3 separate regions of the Homo sapiens genome follow, and all the other regions are linked to region 3. The links are contacts of gene promoters, found by promoter capture Hi-C in human tissues and cell types (Jung and others, 2019). All regions are on one chromosome and are shown on one strand. The core of a region is centred on a gene start or on the middle of the fragment in contact, and the rest is flanking DNA. Distances in the headings are between cores, read along the strand shown. Region 1 overlaps TMEM50B (transmembrane protein 50B). Region 2 overlaps IFNGR2 (interferon gamma receptor 2). Region 3 holds the start of IL10RB (interleukin 10 receptor subunit beta).

Region 1 (2,700 bases), core at 147-2,646, 200 kb after region 3:
AACATCAACATGAAACCAATGAAAAGCCAAACTCGAGCACCTGTGTAGAGAAGAGGCTTTATGATTTTGTTCATTTTTGCAGCTCTGTAACGTCTTAGGAATACATAATACTAGGAGCCCTGTTAGCCTAGTATATATTATGCATATCAAAGATAGTCATATATTTATATAAATCTGCTGTAAGTTAAATGAATGATGATTTAAAAAAAAAACACTAAAAGAAGTTAAACCATACATGGAAAAGGAAAAAAAGAAAGTTACCTTTTTACTGACTAGAGAAACGAATGCCCTAATTAAAAAATTACACTGTTGTATATATTACCAAAATAATTGCTCTATTAAAAGTAGCACATGTATTCTGGATAGCCATCACCACATAGGAATGAGAGACTTCAAATGAAGAAGGACTAATATGTCCCTTTTTAATCAATGGTAAGCTTCTATAATCACACCATTATTCAATATGGTACAAATAACGGCCATTCTTTAGGAGTATATTCAGGCTTTTTTATTGCTGAGGCAGCCAATCTGTACCACATATTCATGAAAACTTCAAGATCAGAAGTATCTCTTCAACCCTGTATTGAACAAAATTCTAGATCTCGATAATGTAAATCATCTGGACACTTGAGTAGATTCAACATATTTTTAGGAAAGCAGGTTAATACTTGCACCAGATCCTGTTCACAGGTATACTGACAGCCCCATCAACCTCTGGAAGGGGAAGAAAGCTCCACTGAAGTAAAAATAAAATCCTAGCCAATTTCCATAACAGAAAACTAAATTTGCCTCAGTTGCAAATATTTTGTTACCAGGGAAAAGATTCATTTTAGACACCAGATAAGGAAGAAGCACTGATCAAAGTTCATAATGGTTAGAACAGCTGATATCTGAGAGAAATAGGTCTCTATATTATCTAAATTTTATTACAATACTAAGCAGATCTCCAGAAATAAACAGTAATGTTTAGTTCTTTGGAGAAATACAATCTCTAAATTATATTCAATCATAGCTTTTATCTAACGTGAATAAAAGGAACTATTAAAAATCCTTAAAGGCGGGGCATGGTAGCTCACACCTGTAATCCTAGAAATTTGGGAGGCCAAGGTGGGCTAATTGCCTGAGCTCAGGAGTTCGAGACCAGCCTGGGCAACATGGTAAAACCCTATCTCTACTAAAAGAAAAAAAAATCAGTCGGGCTTGGTGGCGGGTGCCTGTAGTCCCAGCTATTCAAGAGGCTGAGGCAAGAGAATTGCTTGAACCTGAGAGGCAGAGGTTGCAGTGAGCCAAGATCATGCCACTACACTCTAGCCTGCGCAACAAAGCAAAACTGTTTCAAAAAAAAAAAAATCCTTACAATTATTTTCCATCATGTCCTTTATTTATGGCTATATACATTAAACTTTCTAATAGAATTAAACAAGAAAAAAATTTCTCTTGTAAAGTAAGTATGTCTGAGGGCATATTAACAAAAAGAGAAAAAAAAGAAAAAGAAGTATGCTTTTGTTTAGCAAAAAAATAAAACTGTAACATTTTCTCTTGTTTGCTTTGGCTACAAGGAAGCTCTGAGTTAAGGTTAATGAACAATTAAAAGCATCCATCTTGTCCCAGGTTCTAAGTACAATGATCATTTTTCTACCTAGTTCCTGTTCTTTTTTATAGTTTTATTATTTAGCTGTTTCATTTATAGTATATTTATTATTTTGATACTTTCCTATTAATTCCTCCGGGAACTAAATAGAGATAGTTTACAGATAAACCACTTAAGCAGTACAAAAGCTTAAGAGTAGCAATACCTGGGCATGACTATAAGACAGTTTGTCCTTAATTTTTGAAACACTAAACAGAAATTGCACTATATGCACAATATAAAAATATAAACTGTACTGTTAATTTTAATAGAATAGGGAATATCATAGAATAAAATATAATAATCACTTAGGGTAAAAACGACGGGCTTGGGAACCAGACAGACCAAAGACAAATACAGGTTCCACTTTTAAGCTAAAAAACTTTGGATAAGTTACAGTGAAACTTCCTATAAAAAACAGATAATAGTGGCCAGGCACAGTGGCTTACACCGGTAATCCCAGCTACTCTGGAGGCTGAGAGGGGAGGATTGCTTGAGCCCAGGAGTTCAAGGCTTTTCTGCGTCATGATCATGCCACTGCACTCTAGCCTGGGAGACAGAGCAAGACCTCGTCTCAAAAAAAGATAATAGTAACATAATTCACAGCAATGTCCGTGGAATATTCTTGAAAGAAAAATGATGGAGTACATTATTGTATGCTCTACATACAACATCTTCACTTGCTAATATATATTTTTTCTTTACCTTCCCTCATTCCTGACATTACTGCTGAGGCTGACATACAGGATATGATGAAAAGTAAGCGCGATCGCATGCGCATACACACACATATTGTGCACTTTAAACTTAGGCTCATCTGTCATTTGTCATTATACCCTCTCGCAAATTCTCCATGGATTCCAGTAGAAGTGAGGTTACAAAATCTACATCAGCATTTAAAGCATCAGGTAGAAGGCTGGGCATGGTGGTTCATGCCTGTAATCCCAGCACTTTGGGAGGCCAAGGCGGGTGCATCACCTGAGGTCAGGAGTTTGAGAACAGCCTGGCCAACATGGTGAAACCCAGTTTCTACCAAAAATACAAAAACTAGCCAGGCGTGGTGGCAGGCA
Region 2 (2,700 bases), core at 122-2,621, 160 kb after region 3:
TTCTGCCACTGGGAGTTGTCTGGACTTAGCACCTCCACCAGAACAAATGAGGGGGCACAACTACAAACTCAGCAGTTCTTTTGCACAGAGAGAAGCTTGGCCAGATCATACACCTAACCCTCACCAACCTGGAGTGCCCAGGGGAGAGAATCCAGCCCTGCTGTTGTGAACACACAGTGACAGGATTGTCTCCTTGTGTAAAATGTGCAGACATTGGTCTCTTAGAACTTCGAGGACCCAAACTGTACTTTGATCTGAGTTTCTCTGGTGAATTATACAATGTGCATGCTTACTTAATAAATGCTTGATAACCCCTCATTGATAGCACATCATGAGTCACAGTCCTAGCCTGACCTGTGAATTATATGAAAAGCCTGAACAAATAGACTTACATGGCAACACTTCTCAGTTATTGTGTTTAAATATAGTATGGGCATGGTGCTCACGCCTGTAATCCCAGCACTTTGGGAGGCCAAGGCAGGCGGATCACCTGAGGTCAGGAGTTTGAAACCAGCCTGGCCAACATAGTGAAACCCTGTCTCTACTAAAAATACAAAAATTAGCCGGGTATGGTGGCGTGTGCCTGTAATCCCAGCTACATGAGAGGCTGAGGCAGGAGAATCGCTTGAACCTGGAAGGCGGAGGTTGCAGTGAGTTGAGATTGCACCACTGCACTCCAGCCTGGGTGATATGTGCGAGATTCCATCTCAAAAATGAATAAATAAATAAATAGGCCAGGCGCGGTGGCTCACACCTGTAATCTCAGCACTTTGGGAGGCTGAGGTGGGCGGATCACGAGGTCAGGAGTTCGAGAACAGCCTGGCCAACATGATGATACCCTGTTTCTTCTAAAAATATAAAAATTAGCCAGGCATGGTGGCACACGCCTGTTGTAATCCCAGCTACTTGAGAGGCTGATGCAAGAGAATTGCTTGAGCCCGGGAGGTGGAGGTTGCAGTGAGCCGAGATCGCACAACTGCACTCTAGCCTGGGCGACAGAGCAAAACTGTCTCGAAAAAATAATAATAAATAAAGAGATAGATAAAAACGTGTGTGTATATATCTACACCCACTATATATATATATATACATATATATATAGCATTATATAATACATTGTATTATATCTATAATACATATGTGTATGTGTGTGGTTTTCTCTTTGTAATTCTTTTTCAGTGACTGTCGGGCCTCCAGAAAACATTGAGGTGACCCCAGGAGAAGGCTCCCTCATCATCAGGTTCTCCTCTCCCTTTGACATCGCTGATACCTCCACGGCCTTTTTTTGTTATTATGTCCATTACTGGGAAAAAGGAGGAATCCAACAGGCAAGAGCATCTTTCTTTTTTGTTTGGATTTTCTTTTCTTTGCAGTTTCTGGCTTAGCAAAAGAAAGAAACCTTTAACATGGGCAAGAACAGGGTGTCTCCATGTCCCCGTGTCCCCATAGAGGCTGAGCCCTGAGCCTGTTTTCATTGTCCTCTTCAAGACCTGTTTTTCCACTCGGTTTGCTGAGACCTCCCTCCGCCAGGCTGATCTGAAGGGCCAGCCATCCTTTGATGTCACTCTGTGTCCCTTGTGTGGGGTTGAGACTTTGCCGGTGCCCTGCTTACGATGCCTTTGCCACGCTCTGTAGTTTGGAGGAGGTTTTAGTGGGCCTGGTTCTCCATGAGGAATCCACAACTACAGCCTGCAAGGCTTAACTGTATAAATGTTTGAACAGTTTGTGAAAAGGGCACATGCGAAATCGGGGGGAAACAGAGGGAGAAAGAGCTTTCCAGAGAGCAGTACCAGCAGGTATGAGAAGGCGTGGCATACGTGGAGAACTGCAGGTGCTTAGATTGGTCAGAAATGCAATCCACAAGGGGCTGTGGCAGGTGCTCACGTTGACAGAGGTGCATGACATCAGAGCGGCCTGGTCAGCCTCGGGGAGTATAGGAAAAAGCATCATGGTCTTGAAGCATCTCCAGTGCCTAAATTATCCTAGCTGCATTTAAGGAGGTTCTGTTATCTATGGGAACTTCATGATTTCCTAAATTCAACATTATGATGGTTTTTGATAATAAGAGCTTACATTTATTGAGAGCTTCCTTTGTGTTTGGCTCTGGGCCAGAATTTTAGATACTTCATCTCATTTCATCTTTTTTTTTTTTTTTTTTTTGAGCTGGAGTTTCGCTCTTGATGCCCAGCTAGTTTTTGTATTTTTAGTAGAGACAGGGTTTTTACCACGTTGGTCAGGCTGGTCTCAGACTCCTGACCTCAGGTGATCTGCCCACCTTGGCCACCCAAAGTGCTGGGATTACAGGCATGAGCCACCGTGCCCGGCCCATTTCATCTTTATACTAATCCGTTTGCAGAGAGAGAATCCAAGTCGTTAAGTGGCTTGCCTCAGGTCAGCAGCGAATCACTGGCAGAGCAGAGCAGAGCAGAGATGCCTAGCTTCAGAGCCCTGCTCTTGACCACCATCTTTTTCTGCCACACGCTTTGTATCTGCACTTCTCCTTCATTTTTTTTTTTTTTTTAATTATTGTTCTTTTTTTGAGACAGTCTCACTGTCGCCCAGGCTAGAGTACTGTGGTACCATCTTGGCTCACTGCAACCTCTACCTCCCCGGCTCAAGCAGTCCACCCACTTCAGCCACCCGAGTAGCTGGAACTACAGGCCTGTGCCAACCACACCTGGCTAATATTTTTAAATTTTT
Region 3 (2,700 bases), core at 89-2,588:
TGTAGCAACCAGTTTAAGGACTGGGACTCAGGGATCCAACTCCCACAGTTTCCCTGTGTGACCCTAGGCATTTGACTTAGCCTTTCTGAGCCTCAGGTTTTTTGTTTCTGAAGTAAAAGGATTGGACTAGGTAATCTCCAAGATCCTAGGAACCCAGGAGAAAGATGAGAAAATGTACAAGAATGAACACTCAGGTGGAAATGCTGCAATCCTGAGAAGCTCCCAGGATGAATGAAAGGCACAGGACCTCTTACCCCTCACCCCTGCCCCCCTCAAGAGCTGGTTTCTCAAACCTTTCTCTTAGGCCCCTTCAAAGGGGGAAAACTAAAAATTATACAAGTTATAGTTCAAGGACTTTAAATAGATTATTTATATGATTGCTCATAAGGATGAGGCTGTGAGGAGGGAACACCTTATTTAATCTAATGAAATTCCATAGGAAAGAGGCCTTTTGTATATTGAATCAATTTATCTGCCTTCTCAGTGCATCTGTCATATTCTGAAAGATTCTGGGTTGATCTTTTGCGATAACCTCTATGGCTGTGAGTGTGTGTGTGTGTTTGTGTATTTTTTAACATTTTGTATAATGATTGGAGGTTGGTAAAAAGTAACACAACAGTACTTTTTTAATACAAACTTGGTGTGGTCTTGAGTTGTCTTCCATTGGAGAGCGTACGTGTGCCACAGATTGGTGCACCTGCCGGCATCTCTAGGATTGCACCAACTCCCTCTAGCTCTTCTTGGTGGCCTGCAGGGGCCTAGGGCGCATTCACTTCCCTCTGCTTGACTTTACGTGGTGTTCTAGCGTCAGACATCAGGCGATGCCGTGCATTACCCAAGACACTGGACAGCTCCGGATCTTCCCGTCTAACCACTAATCAAGTTAAAAAGAGGAAATTAACGCTTTCTTAGTAGTCTCTGAAAGAAACTAGTTATTTGCGTAAAGATGACTTGGTTTTGTGTTGTTTATCCCTGGGGAGAAGGGTAAAGAAGACCCTCAAACTGGATTTGCTGCTGAAGTGCTTTTAACTCACCTGTGCGGAGAGCGGACTTCAAGAGAGGGCGTGCCGGTGCTCCGGACAAAACCTGGGGAATACTGAAAGCCACCACCACCACCGTCATTCCAGCATGCAGATCTCAGTCCTGGGTTGGTGTTGTAGGGCATTTATTTATTTGACTTGACGGCGCCTTTCAAAGCTTGCGAGGATCCCTTCCTCTTCCTCGTGTGCATCTGCCAAGCCTGTGCCCCGCGCCTCGCGGGTGGACCCGGGCTGGTGGGCGGGGCCTGCAGCGGGGTGGGAGCCCGGTCGCCCGGCCCCTCCCCACCCCGCCCCGCCCATCTCCGCTGGTTCCCGGAAGCCGCCGCGGACAAGCTCTCCCGGGCGCGGGCGGGGGTCGTGTGCTTGGAGGAAGCCGCGGAACCCCCAGCGTCCGTCCATGGCGTGGAGCCTTGGGAGCTGGCTGGGTGGCTGCCTGCTGGTGTCAGGTGAGGGGTCCGCGGGGAGGGGGCGCGCTTGGGAACCGGGAGGCCCCGCGAGATGCCGCCCCTGATCCCATCCCTGGGCGCCCTGCAAGTGACTTAAGAGCCTTCGGGGCCTCGGGAGAGAAGATGCAAACGCCACGGCCGGCTGCTGAGACGCAACTAGGCTGCTGCTGCCGTCGATTCTGTAACAGGAGAAAGCCCCATCCGCGCCCGGATTACAGACCGTCTGGGCCCTAAACTCAGGGGGAGACTCCCGGCGTCTTTTGATTCCCTGTCCTCCTGCAGCTCTCTGCTGGCGGGCGTCTAAATAAAGTAGCTTCCCCAAAAGACCCAAGATCCCACCGTGGCTGTCATCTGACCCTTCTGGAGACTATCAGTTCAAGTGGAGGCCCCCACCAGTCCCCGAGTGCCCTGACAGCCCTCCCTGACCCCAAGTCTGCCCCCTCAGTGCCAGCCCTCCCTACAGATGTGCCTCCCATCACCCGCTGCACCTCCCCTCCTTCCGGTTCAGGCCCGAGCACCCTGAAATCTGGATTCTGTCCCCCAGCGCCCCAGCTCCATGGCTTCTAAACCTAAATCCATTGAAACCTTTTCTGTCCTCTAAATTGACTGCCTAGGTTCCAATAACACCATGGTCACCTCCTTCCTTTCTCATGAACTCTTCCCTGGCCTTCCGGGATACCCCTCCGGTTTCCCGCCCTGTCAGGCTGTCTCTGCTTGGGACCCTCCTGCTCTGTCAGGTTTCTATGTAGCTAATTGTGATGCCCAAGGCCTTTTCTCTCCTTCCCTGGCACTGTTCCTTTGGGGGATTTCAGCCAAACCCTGGCATTAAACACGGGCTATAGGCCCATGACTCGCACATTTATATCTCTCTTGGTACCAGTTGGGTGATGGGTGGTGGTTTATTATAGTCTTCTACTTTTCTACTTGCATGTAGGTTTCAAATTTTCTTTTCTTTCTTTCTTCTTCCGTTTTTTTTTTTGTTTGTTTGTTTTTTTGTTTTTTTGTTTTTTTTTGAGACAGGGTTTTGCTCTGTTGCTGTGGCCCAGGCTGGAGTGCAGTGGCTTGATCTTGCCTCACTGCCACCTCCGCCTCCCGGGTTCAAGCGATTTTCCTCCCTCAGCCTCCCGAGTAGCTGGAATTACAGGTGTGTGCCACTACGCCTGGCTAATTTTTGTATTTTTATTGGAGATGGGGTTTCGCCATGTTGGCCAGGC

Evidence for each region. Contacts are between HindIII fragments. The study calls those that stand out against the background at their distance.
Region 1: a contact is called between a fragment that was not itself captured here and the fragment with the promoter of IL10RB in region 3, in 1 of the 25 tissues and cell types used here (dorsolateral prefrontal cortex).
Region 2: a fragment that was not itself captured here is called in contact with the fragment with the promoter of IL10RB in region 3 in 1 of the 25 tissues and cell types used here (spleen).

The regions. Positions count from the first base shown.
Region 1 is chr21:33,460,466-33,463,165 of GRCh38, forward strand. TMEM50B (transmembrane protein 50B) reads right to left here. Exons shown (of 7, transcript NM_006134.7): 5 at 1-40. Among named protein-coding and RNA genes, the nearest start is that of TMEM50B, 18 kb to the right of the region's middle. The HindIII fragment of the contact is 4,870 bases long and covers 1-2,700 here.
Region 2 is chr21:33,425,705-33,428,404 of GRCh38, forward strand. It overlaps IFNGR2 (interferon gamma receptor 2), which reads left to right. Exons shown (of 7, transcript NM_005534.4): 4 at 1,180-1,328. Among named protein-coding and RNA genes, the nearest start is that of IFNGR2, 24 kb to the left of the region's middle. The HindIII fragment of the contact is 6,726 bases long and covers 1-2,700 here.
Region 3 is chr21:33,265,029-33,267,728 of GRCh38, forward strand. IL10RB (interleukin 10 receptor subunit beta) reads left to right here and starts at 1,339. Exons shown (of 7, transcript NM_000628.5): 1 at 1,339-1,486. The coding sequence starts at 1,438. The region is part of intron 7 of IFNAR2-IL10RB (IFNAR2-IL10RB readthrough); the gene reads left to right. IFNAR2 (interferon alpha and beta receptor subunit 2) reads left to right here. Exons shown (of 9, transcript NM_001289125.3): 9 at 1-636. It overlaps IL10RB-DT (IL10RB divergent transcript), which reads right to left and starts at 1,232. Exons shown (of 2, transcript NR_038974.1): 1 at 1,035-1,232; 2 at 604-874. RefSeq lists enhancers at 855-914, 945-1,014 and a silencer at 1,185-1,594. The HindIII fragment of the contact is 10,877 bases long and covers 1-2,700 here.